Regions from separate parts of the Homo sapiens genome. Here region 1 is linked to region 2. Evidence: promoter capture Hi-C in 16 types of primary human blood cells and fetal thymus (Javierre and others, 2016). All regions are on one chromosome and are shown on one strand. The core of a region is centred on a gene start or on the middle of the fragment in contact, and the rest is flanking DNA. Distances in the headings are between cores, read along the strand shown.

Evidence for each region. Contacts are between HindIII fragments. The CHiCAGO score rates a contact against its expected background, and 5 or more counts as called.
Region 1: a contact is called between a fragment that was not itself captured here and the fragment with the promoter of ECM1 in region 2, in 1 of 17 cell types (neutrophils). The highest score is 7.5, in neutrophils.

The regions. Positions count from the first base shown.
Region 1 is chr1:150,638,017-150,642,630 of GRCh38, reverse strand. No RefSeq gene overlaps it. Among named protein-coding and RNA genes, the nearest start is that of ENSA, 11 kb to the right of the region's middle. RefSeq lists enhancers at 899-1,514, 3,979-4,595. The HindIII fragment of the contact is 4,327 bases long and covers 542-4,614 here.
Region 2 is chr1:150,504,400-150,509,412 of GRCh38, reverse strand. It overlaps ECM1 (extracellular matrix protein 1), which reads right to left and starts at 1,304. Exons shown (of 10, transcript NM_004425.4): 1 at 1,134-1,304. The coding sequence starts at 1,203. It overlaps TARS2 (threonyl-tRNA synthetase 2, mitochondrial), which reads right to left. Exons shown (of 18, transcript NM_025150.5): 14 at 4,978-5,013; 15 at 4,680-4,781; 16 at 4,435-4,507; 17 at 3,708-3,822; 18 at 1,811-2,497. The coding sequence ends at 2,349. The HindIII fragment of the contact is 8,833 bases long and covers 1,284-5,013 here.

The DNA of each region.
Region 1 (4,614 bases), core at 1,456-3,955, 130 kb before region 2:
CTTGGTCTGTCTTATTTTTCTGCTGAGTTCCAAGTTGTCTAGGTAATTTGGAAAGAGACAAACCAAACATGCTTTTTTTGTTGTTTTGTAGAGGCAGGGGGGTCTCCCTGTGTTGCCCAGCCTGGTCTCAAACTCCTGGGCTCAAGGGATCCTCCTGTCTCAGCCTCCCAAAGTGCTAGGATTATAGGCATGAGCCACCGTGCTCAGCTGAAAAGTGACTTTTTATTGATAATTGAGGGAGCCATCTCTCCCAGAAAGCAGTAAAATTTTATCGAATGCAAGTCAAAGCGAGAGTCACTTCCTGGCAGAAATCTCCGTTTTCTAGCAGCCCAGCTCACTTACCGTGTCAGTTTTCCTTTGCATTCCAAATTGTAAAAAAGTAAATTGAACCAGAGGGGAAAAACTAAATATTCTCTAAGAGCTCTTTTGTGTAGAATTTTTTCCCAGAATATAAATAATCTGGCTACCGCTTTGTTTTTCTTAATCTAATTCAACCTCCCAAAGTATGATAGTAGATTTAACTGAATTTCCTTCAGAAGCTTACCTGGGAATCTAGGGCCTTCTACTCCTTCAGAAGGGCTTCTTGACTGAATCCATGTTTCTGCCACAAGAAAAAAATCAGTCCAATAAATGTACATCATTTTCCTGATTTAATGAGAAAAATTTTAATCCTAAGTTTTTCTTGTATTTCAGAGATACTGAAATGTTTCCTCCTTATCTGAAAGTGAGACTTCTTCAAAGATTTATGGATATTTAAACCCATAAAATACCTCAAAATATTTGTAGGTTAGCCTTAATAATAATAATAATAATTCTTTTCCCCCTCGTTGTATCACCTCACTTTCATGCTCGTGCGTGTGAAGAGACCACCAAACAGGCTTTGTGTGAGCAACATGGCTGTTTATTTCACCTGGGTGCAGGCGGGCTGAGTCCAAAAAGAGAGTCAGCGAAGGAAGATAAGGGTGCGGCTGTTTTATAGGATTTGGGTAGATAAAGGAAAATTACAGTCAAAGGGGTGTTGTTCTCTGGCGGACAGAGTGGGGGTCACAGGGTGCTCAGTAGGGGAGCTTTTTGAGACAGGATGAGCCAGGAAAAGGAATTTCACAAGACAATGTCATCAGTTAAGGCAGGAACAGGCCATTTTCACTTCTTTTGTGGTGGAATGTCATCAGTTAAGGCAGGAACCGGCCATCTGGATGTGTATGTGCAGGTCACAGGGGATATGATGGCTTAGCTTGGGCTCAGAGGCCTGACACACCTTTTCTTGAACCTCCAAGTAGAGGCCAAAAAAGTCTTGAATAAGTTAGATTAAACTGATTTATATTAATCCAAAGTAGATATTTTTTCTTTTGGGAAGTAGGGAAGAAATGGGTCGAATTGAGGAGGGGAAGGCTGGAGAAGGGTGAAGAAAACAGAATAGCCAAATGGATTCTCAGGAACATTATGAATATTTAAAAGGGTGAACATTCAGTCTGAGAAAGCTGATTGAAGAAAATACTGAACAAATTTTCTTTTTGTCTTTGAGACAGAGTCTCTCTCTGTCACCCAGGCTGGAGTGCAGTGACACCATCTTGGCTCACTGCAACATCCACCTCCCGGGTTCCAGTCATTCTCCTGCCATGTTGGCCAGGCTGGAGGCTTCAAGTGATCCACCCGCCTGGGCCTCCCAAAATACTGGGATTACAGGCGTGAGCCACACCGTCTGGCCAAAAAATACTCTTTAAATGCTCAAAAAGTAATAAAAGACTTTTTTTTTTTTTTTTTTTAAGATGGAGTCTCACTCAGTCGCCCAGGCTGGAGGGCAATGGCATGATCTCGACTCTGCAACCTCCGCCTCCCAGGTTCAAGTGATTCTCCTGCCTCAGCCTCCTGAGTAGCTGGGATTACAGGCCTGCCCCACCACACCCAGCTAATTTTTTTTTTTTCCCTGAGACGGAATTTTGCTCTTGTTGCCCAGGCAGGAGTGCAATGGCGTGATCTCGGGTCACCGCAACCTCCGCCTCCCGGGTTCAAGCAATTCTCCTGCCTCAGCCTCCCAAGTAGCTGGTTTCATGTGCGTCCGTGTGAAGAGGCCACCAAACAGGCTTTGTGTGAGCAACATGGGTATTTATTTCACCTGGGTGCCGAAAAGAGAGTCAGCGAAGGGAGATGGATTATCATTAATTCTTATAGGTTTTGGGATAGGCGGTGAAGTTGAGAGCAATGTTTTGCGGGCAGGGGTGGATCTCACAAAGTACATTCTCAAGGGTGGGGAGAATTACAAAGAACTTTCTTAAGGGTGGGGGAGATTACAAAGTACATTGATCAGTTAGGGTGGGACAGGAACAAATCAATGGTGGAATGTCATCAGTTAAGGCTATTTTTACTTCTTTTGTGGATCTTCAGTTACTTCAGGCCATCTGGGTGTATACGTGCAAGTCACAGGGGATGCGATGGCTTGGTTTGGGCTCAGAGGCCTGACAGCTGGGATTACAGGCATATGCCACCATGCCTGGCTAATTTTTTTTGTATTTTTAGTAGAGACGGGGTTTCTCCATGTTGGTAAGGCTGGTCTTGAACTCCTGACCTCAGGTGATCCGCCCACATCAGCCTCCCAAAGTGCTGGGATTACAGGCATGAGCCACTGCGCCCAGCCTAATTTTTTTTGTTTTTTGTTTGTTTGTTTTGTTTTTTGTTTTTTGTTTTTGAGACGGAGTCTCACTCTGTCACCCAGGCTGGAGTGCAGTGGCGCCATCTCAGCTCACTGCAAGCTCCGCCTCCTGGGTTCACGCCATTCTCCTGCCTCAGCCTCCCGAGTAGCTGGGACTACAGGCGCCCGCCACCATGCCCAGCTAATTTTTTGTATTTTTAGTAGAGATGGGATTTCACCATGTTACCCAGAATGGTCTCGATTACTAATTTTGTAATTTTAGGAGAGTTGAGGTTTCACCATGTTCGCCAGGCTGGCTTGATCCCAACCCGCCTCGGCCTCCCAAAGTGCTGGAATTACAGGCGTCAGCCACTGCACCCGGCCAAGTAATACTATTTTAAATGAGGTGGCTAGCTGGGAATGGTGGCTCACTCCCGTAATCCAAGCACTTTGGGAGGCCGAGGTGGGAGGACTGCTTGAGGCCAAGAGTTTAAGACCAGCCTGGGCAACATAGTGAGACTCTGTGTCTATTTTTAAAAAATGAATAGTGAACATATATAGCCAGCACCCAAATCAAGAAACAGATCGTTACCAGCACCCTAGAATCCCCCCTCATACCTTTTCCCAGTTGCTATTTTCTCCCTTAAAGGTAACCACAATCTTGACTTGAAATACCATAGATTGGTTTTGCTTTTGAGGTTTATACAAATGAAATTATGAAATATGTATGTTTTGTGACCATGAATTAACTATTTTACTTTTTTTGAAGATTTGATTGACCTAGTTTGGGGCAACTATAAATAGAACTACTATGAATATGTGTTTTGGTATAACATAAGAATGCATTTCTTTTTTAATTTTTTTTTTTTTTTGAGACGGAGTTTTGCTCTTATTGCCCAGGCTGGAGTGCCATGGCACGATCTCAGCTCACCACAACCTCCGCCTCCCAGGTTCCAGTGATTCTCCTGCCTCAGCCTCCCGGGTAGCTGGGATTAGAGGCATGCGCCACCACGCCCGGCTAATTTTGTATTTTTTAGTAGAGACAGGGTTTCTCCGTGTTGGTCGGGCTGGTCTCGAACTCCCGACCCCAGGTGATCCGCCCGCCTTGGCCTCCCAAAGTGCTGGGATTACAGATGTGAGCCACCATGCCCGGGCTCTTTTTTAATTTTTGTGGATACATAGTGGGTGTATATATTTATGGGTTACATGAGATGTTTGATATAGGCATGCAATGTGTAATAATTACATCAGAGTAAATACAGTATTCATCACCTCAAACATCTATCCTTTATGTTTCCAACAATCCAATTATACTCTTAGTTTGCTTGTTTGTTTGAGATGGAGTTTCACTCTTGTTGCTCAGGCTGGAGTGCAATGACGCAACCTTGGCTTACTGCAACCTCTGCCTCCCAGGTTCAAGCGATTCTCCACACTCAGCATCCCGAGTAGCTAGGATTACAGGCACCTGCCACCATGCCTGGCTAGTTTTTGTATTTTTAATAGAGACAGGGTTTCACCGTGTTTGTCAGGCTGGTCTCGAACTCCTGACCTTAGGCAATCCACCCATCTCGGCCTCCCAAAGTGTTGGGATTACAGGCATGAGCCACCGCACCTGGCCTCTCTTTTAGTTATTTTTTAATGAACAATTATTTTTTACTATAGTCACCCTGTTGTGATAGCAAATACTAGATCTTACTTTTCTTTCTATATTTTGTGTACCCATTAACCATCCCCTCTTTACCCGCATCGCAAAGAATGCATTTCAATCGGGTATATATACCTAGGAGAGGGATTGCAAGGTCATGGGTTTTGGATTATGTACAGCTTTAGTATATATTGCCACCAGCTTTCCAAAGTATGTTGTACCAATTTATACCCCAACCAGCCATACTGCAGGTCTTTGGAACTGTCAAGTCATATATTTATGAGCATATGATTGTGCTGAGCAGAAGTCTGGATAAATAAAAGCCACTGTTAATTCCTGT
Region 2 (5,013 bases), core at 55-2,554:
CCTCTGTATTCACCTGCCCCGTGTCCCCTAATCCTCTCCCAGCCCCAACACACCTAGACATGACCAGCTGGGTTCTGAGAAAGCCTGTGGCGGTCTGATAGCTCCACCTCTACTGGCTCAGAGGTTGGGCCTAAAGGGAGTATGGCATACGGGATTGGGGAGGGAGGCCCTCATTTCCTCTGCCAGTCTTTCCCTCAGGGCTGTGGGTTGTCCTCCCCAGTCTCTGCTGGGATGCGTCTCTAGCTTTCAGAGGAAAAAGTCTGGACCTTGAGCTGGTTGGAGCCTACCCAATCCACCTCCTCCACCCACCCTCCTACTCCAGGCCCTTGAAACATCTTTAGGCCTTTGGTTAAGGAGGCTTCCTGAAGGTTGAGTGCTTCCCCTTCAGCCAGTCTCAGCTCCGCCTTAGTTTAGGTCTCAATTTAGGGCCTGGGGGACTGGGACAGGCACAGGGAAGGGTCACTTGTAGGTGATCTGCAGACACAAAAGACCAGGAGCTGGGAAGAATGATGGCATGGGGCTTCACAGAGAAGTGGACAGATTTGCTGACATCCTCAGCAGCTTCCTGCAGGAGTGCCCTGGGTGGTTTTTTTCCTTTTCTTTTCCTTTTTTTCTTAGTTTCCACCCATAGCATTGAGGGGTTCCTGTTTTGTTCAGGCATCAAAGCAGATAAAGAATGTGTTTGTGCTGGATGGAGGGTGGGTCTGTGGATGGACACCCCTCAACTCCTCTAATCAGACAGGGAGTCAGTCGAGGCTTGCTGGGCCAGCAATCCGGTTTTGAGCAGCCTGGGGGCCCCTTTTCCCTCCCTTGCCTCTCCCACCAGCCACCTCCCTACATCCTCATCAGCAGGAGACCCTCACTCTGTGAACCCACCCCCCACTCAGTTGTCTATTTGACTGGGATTCTGTGTTTCTTGGCAGCAGTTTCTAGGAACCCCTCTCCTTCTGTGCCCCTGCTCTCTGCCTCCTTGGTTAAAGGCTCCACTGGCCTAGGCCCACTTTGGGCCTGCTCAGAAAAGGAAAGCCAAACGGAGAATCACTCTGCTAGTGATGAGCCGTCTGGGATGCCTGGACCCAGACCCCTGCCATGCAAGCCCAGACCCCCTCCTAAGTGCTGATCCCCCAACTCACCTCCCTCAGAGGCAGCAGAAGCAACAGCCAAATAGGTCAAGACCAAGGCTGCTCTGGCTGTGGTCCCCATCCTGGGGCAACTGACCACTGGACACTCAGAGGTGGGTCCTCTCAGGCAAGTCTGGATGTGAAGGGCCGGCCACTGAAGCTTGTCTGGTGGCTGTTACGGTTGTGAGCTTCAGGACCAGCTCTTCTTTTATAATTGTCTGGTGTGATCTCCCGCCCTCCTCAGCTTCCTGCCATGACTCAGTCCCAGCTGCTCCTCCTCTGGAAGCCACTCCTCCCAAAGTCACCCTGAAGCCTCCTCAGAGGATTGAGAAGAATGGGACTGATTAGAGGAGAACATTCTTATGACCTTCAAGAGAAACTGATTCAGAGAATCCAGGAGCAAGAGGTGTTTGAGCCCCTAGTTTGTGCCTCAGTTTCTCCATCTACAGGCTGCCTTCTGTGGAGAGGGGATCTGCCAACTCATGAACTGGGGTTGGGGAAACAGGGCACAAAGGAGTTTACAGCGGGGAGCAGGAAACCTATCCAAGGGATCTCCCCTACCAGTGTGAGGTCTGGACTGTCCCTTTTCAATTTCCCTAACTCTCTGGGACAAAAAAGAGGGAGACAAAGTGGAACATCCTTTTATCCCACCTCTCCAGAGTCAGAGATGAAGACATATGACCAGCAGCTTCCAGTTTGTATTTATTTATTTATTTATTTATTTAGAGACAGAGTCTCGCTCTGTCGCCTAGGGGGGTGCAGTGGCGCAATCTCAGCTCACTGCAACCTCTACCTCCCGGGTTCAAGCGATTCTCCTGCCTCAGCCTCCTGAGTAGCTGGGATTACAGGCGTGTGCCACCATGCCCGGCTAATTTTTTGTATTTTTAGTAGAGACAGGGTTTCACCGTGTTAGCCAGGGTGGTCTTGATCTCCTGACCTCATGATCCGTCCGCCTCAGCCTCCCAGAGTGCTGGGATTACAGGCATGAGCCACTGCGCCTGGCCCAATTTATTTTTTTTTGTAGTTTCATTCTCCTCACATCCAAACAGCTACAGCTTCCCTCCTTTTGTGGGGTCCCCAAACCAAGTCTCTTTTCAGGAGAGCAGACATGTGCCTCCACACAGTTCTGAAGTTCTGGGGGCTCCACATTGTCAGCTGGGTTGGGGTCTCCCATGTGAGGGAGGCTGATGGCACTCGCAGGTTTTTGCCTCATCTATGTACAAAGGCTCAGAAAATTTCTTCGGCATTTGGGACCCTCGTGTTCTGTAGCTCCACCAGTCGCTGCACAGCCTCAGGCAAGTCCCACTCCCCAAGGCGACGATTATCTCGAGTCCGAATGTTCACTGTTCTCTTACTTTGCTCTTTCTGGCCAACCACTGCAGGTAGAGGAAGTTTGGGAACCTCAGGGCAAATTCACCCACATGGAACAGTTTCTTTTGCTCTGCAGAAACTTGAGAGACCTAAATCTTTAGGAAGGGTGGGAGCAGAGCCCAGATATGGTTCACAGAAAGGAAGTATTCAGCTGTGTCTGCTAATACTAAATGACCAGTCCTGCTCATCCTGAGGAGACAAGGAAGTGCTTCAGTCCCCGCAGGCCTTATCGCTTCTGGTCAAGAGCCCCAGGGTCAGAGACATAAGAGTCAAGCAGAGAAAGACAAACACTGAGAACCCCACAGAGAGAAACTGTGTGTGTGTGTGTGTGTGTGTGTGTGTGTGTCAGAGACATTAGAGTCAAGCAGAGAAAGACAAACAATGAGAACCCCACAGAGAGAAACTGTGTGTGTGTGTGTGTGTGTGTGTGTGTGCGCGCGCGTGTCTGAAGGGGGTATTAGAGCAAGTGGAAGGTGGCAGGAGTGGTGTGGCCTTCACACTGCCCCGCCTCCCCCCAACCACTCTGACCCTTAGAACAGTTTCCTCTCATCAGTCCCACTCTGGCTCTTGGTGTCTGTTAGGGCTGGATTCACAGAGTGAGGGGCCTCTGCTGAGGAGGATGTATGCAGGGGCTGACTGGGCGGTAAGGGAGGGAAAGGGGCCATGTACAAGTCCCTGGGATTGCAGCACAGCTTGCTCTGGGTGCTTGTAGGGAGAGTGGGGTGTGCAAAACTCAAGAATCAGGTAATCTGGCTGAGGAGTTTCTGCTCCTCACCTTTGAGATAGAGCCCTGAACCCTGGAAAATGAAAAAGGGAGCATGGCAGTGCCAGAATTTTCTCCCTAAGGCCTTTCTCCTCATCCCTTAGGGCTGATTCCATCTAGGTCTAAAATAAACAAGGGTAATTAACGCTGTATTAACCCTCCCGTCCCTTTCTCTCTGATGCTCCCTTGGTTAATTAACCTAACAGACACCAACAGCTAGAGTGGAGTTAAAAAGAGGAAAACTATTTTGAGTGTCAGAAGTGGTTATGGGGAGGGCAGGGCAATGTGAAGGAACACAGGGCCCAAATGAGTCAGGTGTCCTGAATCCTGGCTCCTACCTGCTCAGGTAATGAGCCCCAATTAACCCAAATATGCATTACCAGACTTGGTAAACTTAACAGCAAGAATGCAGACGGCAGGTGGGAGAACATTGGCTCTGAGGTTCAGCTTACCAAACTGAAAATTGTAGTGGGCAAGCTGGGCCCGGCGGATTCTCCGGCTGAGGGTCAGTCCAGAGTCTGCATCCAGGTCACTGACCAGTCCTGCAGCCCGCAGGCTCTGCTGTGCCTGCAACAGAGGTTTGGTGACAGGAAGTTAATTTACTGGAAAGTTAAGGAGCTAGAACAGTCTGATGCTCTTTTCCCTCAATGCCCCCATCTGTTCCTCCTTTCCCTGCCTCGGGGCTCTCCACTTCTTACCAGCAACCTCTCCTCATTTCATCTCCACATTGAGGCCTCCTCCCCATTCATCCCCAACCCCACAATCTTTCTGCCTCCTACTGGAGATGACCCCCCAGTTATTCCGTGGACTTTGCCTTCTAGCCACTGCTCTACCCAACCAGCTGTTTGACTCTGGTACCATCCATATCCTCAATTCTCTCTAGAAAGGAAAAATAAAACTGTGTACTCAATCCCAGTTTTGTGCCAAGTGCTCTTTTGGTGGCTTTCAACATTTGTTAATTTGTTTAATTTTCATACATCTCTACAAGGTAGGCATTAGTCACATTTTTTAGATACAGGATTTCCAGCATCTAGGACAGCAGCCACTCGAGCCCAGTCTTGTGGCTGTGAGGGCTGTGCTCCTTCCTCTACCACCCCTGCAGCCTCTTCCTGCCCACTGCAGGGCACCAGACTCTCTACTGGACCTGCTTCTGCCCCCTCCCTTACCTCAACTCCTTACCTCTTTGGCGTATTCCTCTTGCTCACTCCCCACAGGGATGACCACCACCTGGAACGGGGACAGCCACAGTGGCCTGGTAGGGAAAGAACAGGTGATGGCAAATTAGTCACTCTGGCTCTGGCCAGAAGTGTGCTTGTATGGAGCAGACTTGAGAAGGAAAGAGGCTGGCATATGAAGGGGGACAGGATCTGGAGCATAACTATCCGGTTTGGGGCCAGAACAGAAATCCAGGTCAGAGGTCTCACCATTTCCCCCCGCAGCTTTCTGCCAGCACTCCCAACAGTCTTTCCACAGAACCGAGCACTGCTCGGTGAATGAGGACTGGACGCTCCAGGGCACCCGCCTGCCTTGAAAGGAAAAAGGGGGGGGTGGATGGAATGGTGGAAGTATCACGAATTGTGTACCCAAGATCACCTTCCAGTTTTTAAGAAATATTCAGCTCTGGCAGGAGAGGGTGTGGAGGGTTTAGTTTTTAGGGCCAAAGGCAGAAGGACTTATTCCATGCACTGTCAAGGGAAAAGAGGATAGGGCAAGGTTTTATACCCCTTATACTGGAGGTCAAATCTCAGGGGCAGTTGG